Regions from separate parts of the Homo sapiens genome. Here regions 1 and 2 are each linked to region 3. The links are contacts of gene promoters, found by promoter capture Hi-C in blood cells and fetal thymus (Javierre and others, 2016). All regions are on one chromosome and are shown on one strand. Each heading gives the region's core, a stretch centred on a gene start or on the middle of the fragment in contact. The rest is flanking DNA. Distances are from core to core; before and after follow the strand shown. Region 1 overlaps LINC02770 (long intergenic non-protein coding RNA 2770). Region 2 overlaps LINC02770 (long intergenic non-protein coding RNA 2770). Region 3 holds the start of RGS21 (regulator of G protein signaling 21).

Region 1 (2,700 bases), core at 31-2,530, 340 kb before region 3:
TTTTCCCAGAACCATGTGTTGAAGAAAATATCTTTCCCACTGAATGTTCTTTATGCCTCAGTCAAAAATCAGTTGGCTGTAAATACATGTTTTTTTATTTAACTCTAGTCTGTTAAATTGTTCCATGTCTGTTTTTATACCAATACCAAACTGCTTTTCTTTATAGCCTTGTAATATATTTTGAAGTCAGGTAGTGTTATATCTCCAGCTTTGTTCCTTTTGCTCAGAATTGCTTTGGCTATGTGGGGTATTTTTTGGTTCCAATGAACTTTAGGATTTTTTTTATAATTCTGTAAAAAATGATGTTGGCATTTTAATGGATTTTGAATTGAATCTGTAGATTGCTTTGGGATATATGATCATTTTATCAATATTAGTTCTCTAATCCATTTATATCCTCTTCAGTTTCTTTTATTGGTGTTTTATAGTTTTCCTCATGGAGATCTTTCACCGTCTTTATTACATTTATCCCCAGATATTTTATTTTTTAATAGATATTGTAAATGCAATTGCTTTTTTTTCTCAGCTAATTAATTATTGGTGTATACAAATGCTACTGATTTTTCTATGTTGATTTTGTATCCTGCAACTTTACTGAATTTGTTTATCAAATCTAAAAGGTTTACTGGGAAAGTCTATAGGTTTTTCTAGATACAAGATTATATAATTAGCAAAGAAGGACAATTTGACTTTCAGTTTTTCCCCATTTAGTATGATATTGACTGTGGGTTTGTTATATGTGGCCTTTCTTATGTTGAATATGTTCCTTCTATGTCTAGTTTGTTGAGACTTTTAATTATAAAGAGATGTTAAATCTTATCAAGTGCTTTTCTGTATCTATTGAGAAGATCATACTGATTTTGCCCTTGATTCTGTTGATGTGGTTTATCACATTTATTGATTTGTGTATGTTGAAACATCCTTGCATCCTGGGATAAATCCTACTTGATCATGATGTATTATAGTTTTGATGTGCTGTTAGATTCAATTTTTTAGTATTTTCTTGAGGACTTTTGCATATATGTTTGTCAAGAATATGAGCTTTCAGTTTTCTTTTCTTTTCTTTTTTTTTTTTTTTGTTCTTGCATCTTAGTGTGGTTTTGGTATCAGATTAATGCTGGCCTGGTAGACTAAGTTAGAGAGAATTCCCTCCTCTTGAGTTTTTTGAAATAATTGAGGAGAAGTAATTTTCTTGGTCATCTAGAAAGTAGGTTATCCATTTTGTTTACCTTTAAAAATGCATTTTTGTTTTACTATCTCTTCTATGTTTTGGCGGGTGAGGGTTCTAATTTTCTGTCTATGTGTTCTGTCTAATGCTGACAGTATGGTGTTGAAGTCCCCAAATATTACTGTATTTGAGCCTATCTCTCCCTTTAAATCTAGTAATATTTGCTTTATATATTTGAGTGTTCTGTGTTGGGTAAATATGTTTAGAATTGTTACATCCTCTTGCCGAATTGATCCTTTTATCATTTTATAATTTTTTGTCTCTTTTTACTGTTTTTGACTTAAAGTCTATTTTATCTAACTTAAGTATGACTACTCATGCTCAATTTTGATTTCCATTTTAAAATATTTCTTTTTTCATCTTATTACTTTAGGTTATATATGTCTACAAATATGACGAGGTTTCTTGTAGGCAGCATATAGTTGGGTCCTTTTTTAATCCATTCAGCTAGTCTATATCTTTAAATCAAAAGTTTAATGTAGTTTACATTCAAGGTTATTATTGATATGCAGGAGCTTATTGTTAGCATTGTATTAATTGATTTCTGGTTGTTTTGGATAGCCTTTTTCTTTTTCTCTTATCATTTATTATTGTGATTTGGTGGTCTTCTGTAGTGGTAACTTTTGAGACTTTTCCTATATTTGGATATCTGTATTTCTTGCTAGTCCTGGAAAGTTGTCAGTATTATTTCTCTCACTAAGTTTTCTATCATTTTCATTTTCTCTTTGCCTTCTGGGACACCAAAAGTTCAAAGATTGTGTTGCTTTATGGTGTTCCATATGTTACATATGCTGTGTTCATTTTTTTAAAACTCCTTATTTCAAATTTTTGTCTTGGTTATCTCAAAGGACTGGCCTTCAAATCCTGAGATACTTCTGCTGGATTTAGTCAGTTTTTGAGGCTTTTGAATATATTTTGTATTTCATTCAATGAATTCTTCAGTTCCAGATTTCCATTTGGTTCATAATGTTTATCTCTTTGTCAAATTTCTTACTCTACCCTGGATTGCTTTTCTGATTTAATTATATGGTTTATTATTATGTACTTTCTGAGCTTCTTCAATATTATATTTTAAAATCTTTTTCTATGATTTCATAAGCCATATTTCCTTACTTTTTTATGTTGCTTGTATTCTTAGGTTGATATCTGTGCATGTGTTACAGTCACTCTTTCCTATTTTTAAAGTAACTTTCCTAAGGGAAGACATTTTCCTAAAGTTATATCTATGATGTTTGTTGGGTTGGACACTTTGGATTTGATCCTGAGTGCATGCATTAATGTCATTAGTGTGTGATTTCTTCAGCTATAAACAACATCAATTGTATCTGTGATTTCCTCAGTGGCTTATGGTACAGTTATTGGAGGGTTTGGTGAAGTTTTGCTGGGGACAGAGAAACCAGGTGGCCTAGTCTTCAGGCTCCATTGGTGGCAGCAGTGGGGTAAGCATGTCTGTCCTTGGACTCAAGGGTAGC
Region 2 (2,700 bases), core at 189-2,688, 410 kb before region 3:
ATTCTTGAGGCTCCTGTACTATTCCACCAGTGTCCTAGTAATGGAGTGTGTGTTTACTGCAACTAAATTACAGAGCTTCGTATGGCATGCCCCTAGCATCAGCCTCACACAGTTGTGGGTCTTTGACACACACTGGTAAAGTTCTGCAATGAACTGTGCTTATTAGAGCCCACCAGGAAGGCGAGCTTCTTAGTATAATTAGCTCCCCTGAGAACAATGGCTGCCTTCACAGCTGGAAAACTAGAAGAAATTTATTCTAAAGTATGGGAAGCACTGAAAAGGCACCTGTAATTAAATTTCCTTTTCTGCTTCTTTCTTTTCTTTCTTTCTTTCTTTCTTTCTTTCTTTCTTTCTTTCTTTCTTTCTTTCTTTCTTTCTTTCTCTTTCTTTCTTTCTTTCCTTCCTTCCTTCCTTTCTTTCTTTCTCTCTTTCTCTCTCTTTCTTTCTTCTTTCTTTGTTTCTTCTTTCCATATTTATAGTTTAAGGTTTTTTTTTTAGTTTTTCTCCATCTTGATTAACAAAATATAATTGTAATATTTGTTAATTATGAATATTACTTGCTGAAGGTCATGTCTTCAATTGCTATATGACTTTAATAATGTTTTCCTCTTTCAGTGCAGGTTTAGTAGAGAAATACACACACACACATACGCATAAGACTTGTGAGAAATAAACAGTTTAGAATCTTTACTGTGTAGACAAAATGTTTGAATAACTACATTAGTCTGTTTTTGCATTGCTGAAAAAACTACCTGAGACTAGGAGATTTGTAAACAAAAGAGGATTAACTGACTCACAGTTCTGCATGGCTGAGGAGGCCTCGGGAAACTAACAATCATGGTGGAAGGAGAAGGGGAAACAAGGCATGTCTTACATGGCAGCAGGAGAGAGAGAGCAAGGGGGGAACTGAAAAACACTTTTTAACCATCAGATCACATGAAAACTCACTCACTATTGTGAGAACAGCATGGGGGAAACCACCCCCATAATCTAATCACCTCCCACCAGTTTCCTCCCAGGACACATGGAGTTTACAATTCAAGATGAGATTTGGTTGAGGACACAGAGCCAAACCATGTTATTCTGCCCCAGCTCCTCCCAAATCAGATATAATGCTCACATTTCAAAACACAATTATGCCTTCCCAACAGTCCCGCAAAGTCTTAACTAATTTCAGCATTAAACCAAAAGTCCAAGTCGAAAGTCTCACTTGAAACAAGGGAAGGCCCTTCCACCTGTGAGCCTCTAAAATCAAAAGTATGTTAGTTACTTCTAAGGTACAATGGGTGTACAGGCATTGAGTAATGCTCCTGTTCCAAAAGGGAGAAATTGGTCAAAACAAATGGGCTACAGGCCCCATACAAGTCGGAAAACCTACAGGGCAGTTATTAAATCCAAAACATCAAAAAAATCTCCTTTGACCTCATGTCTAAAACCCAGGACTTGCTGATGCAAGAGGTGGGCTCCCAAGGCCTGGGGCAGCTCTGCTTTTGTGGTTCTACAGGGTACAATCCCTGCACCTGCTTTCATGGGCTGTTGTTGAATGTTTGTGACTTTTCCAGTATCACTGTGCAAGCCATGGTGGATCTACCATTCTGGGGTCTGCAGGATGGTGGCCCTCTTCTCACAGATCCACTAGGCAGTGGCCCAGTGGATGCTCTGTGTTGGGAGCTCCAACCCAACTTTTCTCTTCTGCATTGCACTAGGTTCTCCATAACGGCTTCATCCCTGCAACAGACTTCTGCCTGGACATCCAGGCCTTTCCATACATCCTCTGCAATTTAGGTGGAGGCTCCCAAAGCTCATCTCTTGTGTTCTGCACACCTGCAGGCCCAACACCACATGGAAGCTACCAAGGCTTGGGGCTTGCAACCTCTGAAGCAATGGCTAAAGCTGTACCTTGGCTCTTTATAGCCACAGCTGGAGCTGGAGTGGCTAAGACAAAGGGCACCCTGTCCCCAAGCTGCACAGAGCAGCAGGGCCCTGAGCCCAGCCCATGAAAACATTTTTCCCTCCTAGGTCTTTGGGCCTGTGATGGAACAGTGTATTAGTTCAGTCTTACAGTACTATAAAGAACTATTGAGACTAGATAATTTATTTTTTAAAAAAGAGGTTTAATTGACACAGAGTTCTGCATGACTGGGGAGTCCTCAGGAAATTTGCAATTATGGCAGAAGGAGAAGCAGATACTTCTCACATGGTGGCAGGTGAGAGAGAACAAAAAGCCCAGGGGGAACTGCCATTTATAAAACCATCAGATCTTGTGAGAACTCCCTCACTATCACAAGAACAGCATGGGGAAAACTGCTGCCATCATTCAATCACCTCCCACCAGGTCCCTCACTCGAAACATGGGGATTAAGGGCATTACAATTACAAATTGGGATTTGGGTGGGGATTCAGCCAAACCATATTATTCCTCCCCAAGCTCTCCCAAATCTTATGTCCTCACTTTTCAAAACCAATCATGCCTTCCCAACAGTCCCCCAGTCTTAAGTCATATCAGAATTAACCTAAAATCCAAATCCAAAGTTTCATCTGAGACAAGGCAAGTCCCTTCTGCCTATGAGCCTGTCAAATCAAAGGCAATTTAGATACTTCCAAGATACAATGGAAGTGCAGGTATTGGATAAATGTCCCCATTACAATGGGAGAAATTGGCCAAAACAAAGGGGCTACAGCCCCCATTCAAGTTCAAAA
Region 3 (2,700 bases), core at 36-2,535:
TAATTCTGAGAAATTGATCAAGATTTCTATGTGAATGTTTCTTCTCATGAAGCTTACATTTCTTCAGTCATTGTGTGTAGCACAAGAGGGACATTAAGTATACACACTGAGACAAAAAGAAAATAAATAACCTAACTTTCAAAATTGTTTGGGTAAAGCTAACAATTATGCTAAATATTTTCCTTTATAGATGTATCACATTTCAAATACTACATACATAGCATATATTTAACGGAGTTTAGTAAAATATCAAGTAAAACTACTTAGTAAAGCAATATATTTCTCCCTGTAATAATACTTAAACACATTTGAGGCTATGTGAGTAGTAAAGAGTTAATTATTTGCACTAAAACCCAAAGGTCCAGAGTTAAAATGTGACAATCTATTGAAGTTTTTGATATGCCAGTGTTACAGCATAGAAAACAAAACATATTCAATAAATTAATCATTAATGCATCTAGATCGTAAAATAGGATGTGCATTAAAATGCTCTCACCGCAACAGCTGATGTTTCATTGATACAGGAAAGGCTCAAATAATCTGGACAGATGAAGTGGTTGTATAATATTTTCCTCCTTCGCCACTTCAAGTATATCTGTCCAATTTTAGGCCCATTACTTTAAAAAAGAGAGCATAGTTTGATAATTTCCCTTCATTATCTGCTTGACTTGATAAAGATGTTGTTCATACATTAAAAGTTGCGCCTTGATTAGCTGAAATCATAAAATAATAGTATGTAGCTTTTAAGTATTTTAAGTGTCTTCCACATAAGCTTTGAATCATTGAAACTAAAGGCTATAATCTGGGCAGATGCGAAACTAAAGACAAATTTCCTATGCAAACATGTATACCATATGAAAGCCATGCAAATACTGCCTTCAGAAGAAAAACAAAGGCTTGTTTTATTTTTTTCCCTCAAACTGAGCTACTTTATCAGAGTACAATTGCAAAGTAAAGATTTACATATTTTTGACTGAAAAAATAATTTCCATACCACATGTATGTGACTTCACAATGTGAAGATTTTAGGACACTGACACAAATAGGTACCAGGTCATTAAAAAAAGAGACTCAGATAGTCGGAGTTACTGTTACATTTATTATGTATTTAATAGAAACACCACCAAAATTCTTCAAATTAAAACTAACTACAATCTAAATATCTTGATTATGGAATGGATTCAATGGTGTTTAGATATTAAACTTAACCTCAAAAATAATGTGGTTATATGAAGATTGTGTAGAAAAGAAAAACATATGGTAGAGAGTATGTTAATATAGAAAAGTTACCACTTGGAAAACAATTCATCTGAAAGAAGCACAGATTTTCTCATCTATCCTGTCAACAAAGAAGGAATCAAGAGAGCAAGGACAGTGATTTCCCCTGCATTGCATTTGTGTGAGTATAAAGAGATTTAAGGTTTATTATATAAATGAACTTGTTACAAAGATTAAACTGATGACATTTAGAGATAAAAATGCCAACTATTAGATTCTTTTCATCAAACTCAGCGAGTTTGGAATCATAAAAAGAAAAAATTTTACTAGCTATTCATTTGGTAACATTTGCAGAAAATAATATATTATCACAGATTGTCAAAGAACTGACACTTTGCCAACTAGTCTGCTTCAAATTTGTAAAAAAGATGAACAAAGGATATCAGACTCCACGGGAGGGGAGAGAAAAAGACAAGAGATAGGATTATAGAACCCATAGAATTTTAAAGCTAGAAGAAATGTAAAAAAAAAAAATCTATCTCATACTTTTCTTATATCCTTTTGGAAAAGCAACTAGAACAAGTAATAATAACATCTTTCTCAAGGACACACAGCAGGTGGCCAATTACCATACCTGAAAGTAATGAATTATATAAATAAAGAAAATGTGAGAAAGATGTTACATACAGCATAGAAAAGCACATTAAATATAATATTACTATTTTTATGTCTTTACTTATATATGGTTAAATGACTTGAGTAGAACTTGATAGGATAAAAGCACTACTTCAACAATGTTTACAGTTTTAAAGATATATTTCAGTTAGTACTTTCACTATTCTTCAAATTTTATTTTTAAAATAATTTTGAAAAATGCATCTTCATGTCACTCTAAGTAAAGTCTTATTAACTTATAACTTATATTAAGTTCTTTAAAATTAGTTTATATAATTTTAGTTTGTAATTTCATAAAATTTTTAGTCAACATGTGCATTCACAACTCAAGATGAAATGGTTGTTACTTTGTTTTGGCATTTACTAGTACATGTATTATAGTATATGTATAACATATTAGTGGTTTGTACCATGCCCTAAAACTTATGACACCAAATGCTGGCAACTCTTTCTCCTGCTTTCTAAAATGTATTATAGTCTAAAATATTAGTAAATATTAATATATTCATCGTATAATTGCCTTTTTAAGAAATCAATATCCTGTTATTTTTAGACAATGTCAAAATATTGCATTATCTAAAAAAAACCTAGTCATTAAACTTAGAAATGTCAAGTACACCTGTGAATTTGTTAAGGGGACACTATAATTTTCTATTTGATTTGAAAATAAATCAAGCAGCCACAGCATTCTCGAAGTAACACTATTAATTACTTCTGCTAATTGCCTCTGTGCAATTGGGAAAGAAGTAAAGCAATCTCCTCTGGTTTGATTTGAAGGACATCACAGGATCTCACCCCATCAGACTG

What was found. The method cuts DNA at HindIII sites, captures the fragments that hold promoters and counts their contacts. A CHiCAGO score of 5 or more calls a contact.
Region 1: a contact is called between a fragment that was not itself captured here and the fragment with the promoter of RGS21 in region 3, in 2 of 17 cell types (M0 macrophages and endothelial precursors). The highest score is 5.3, in M0 macrophages.
Region 2: a contact is called between a fragment that was not itself captured here and the fragment with the promoter of RGS21 in region 3, in 1 of 17 cell types (neutrophils). The highest score is 6.1, in neutrophils.

What each region holds. Positions count from the first base shown.
Region 1 is chr1:191,980,065-191,982,764 of GRCh38, forward strand. All of the region lies in intron 9 of LINC02770 (long intergenic non-protein coding RNA 2770), which reads left to right. Among named protein-coding and RNA genes, the nearest start is that of RGS18, 180 kb to the right of the region's middle. The HindIII fragment of the contact is 6,034 bases long and covers 1-2,700 here.
Region 2 is chr1:191,907,173-191,909,872 of GRCh38, forward strand. All of the region lies in intron 5 of LINC02770 (long intergenic non-protein coding RNA 2770), which reads left to right. Among named protein-coding and RNA genes, the nearest start is that of LINC02770, 180 kb to the left of the region's middle. The HindIII fragment of the contact is 7,214 bases long and covers 1-2,700 here.
Region 3 is chr1:192,315,707-192,318,406 of GRCh38, forward strand. RGS21 (regulator of G protein signaling 21) reads left to right here and starts at 1,286. Exons shown (of 5, transcript NM_001039152.3): 1 at 1,286-1,399. The HindIII fragment of the contact is 2,232 bases long and covers 771-2,700 here.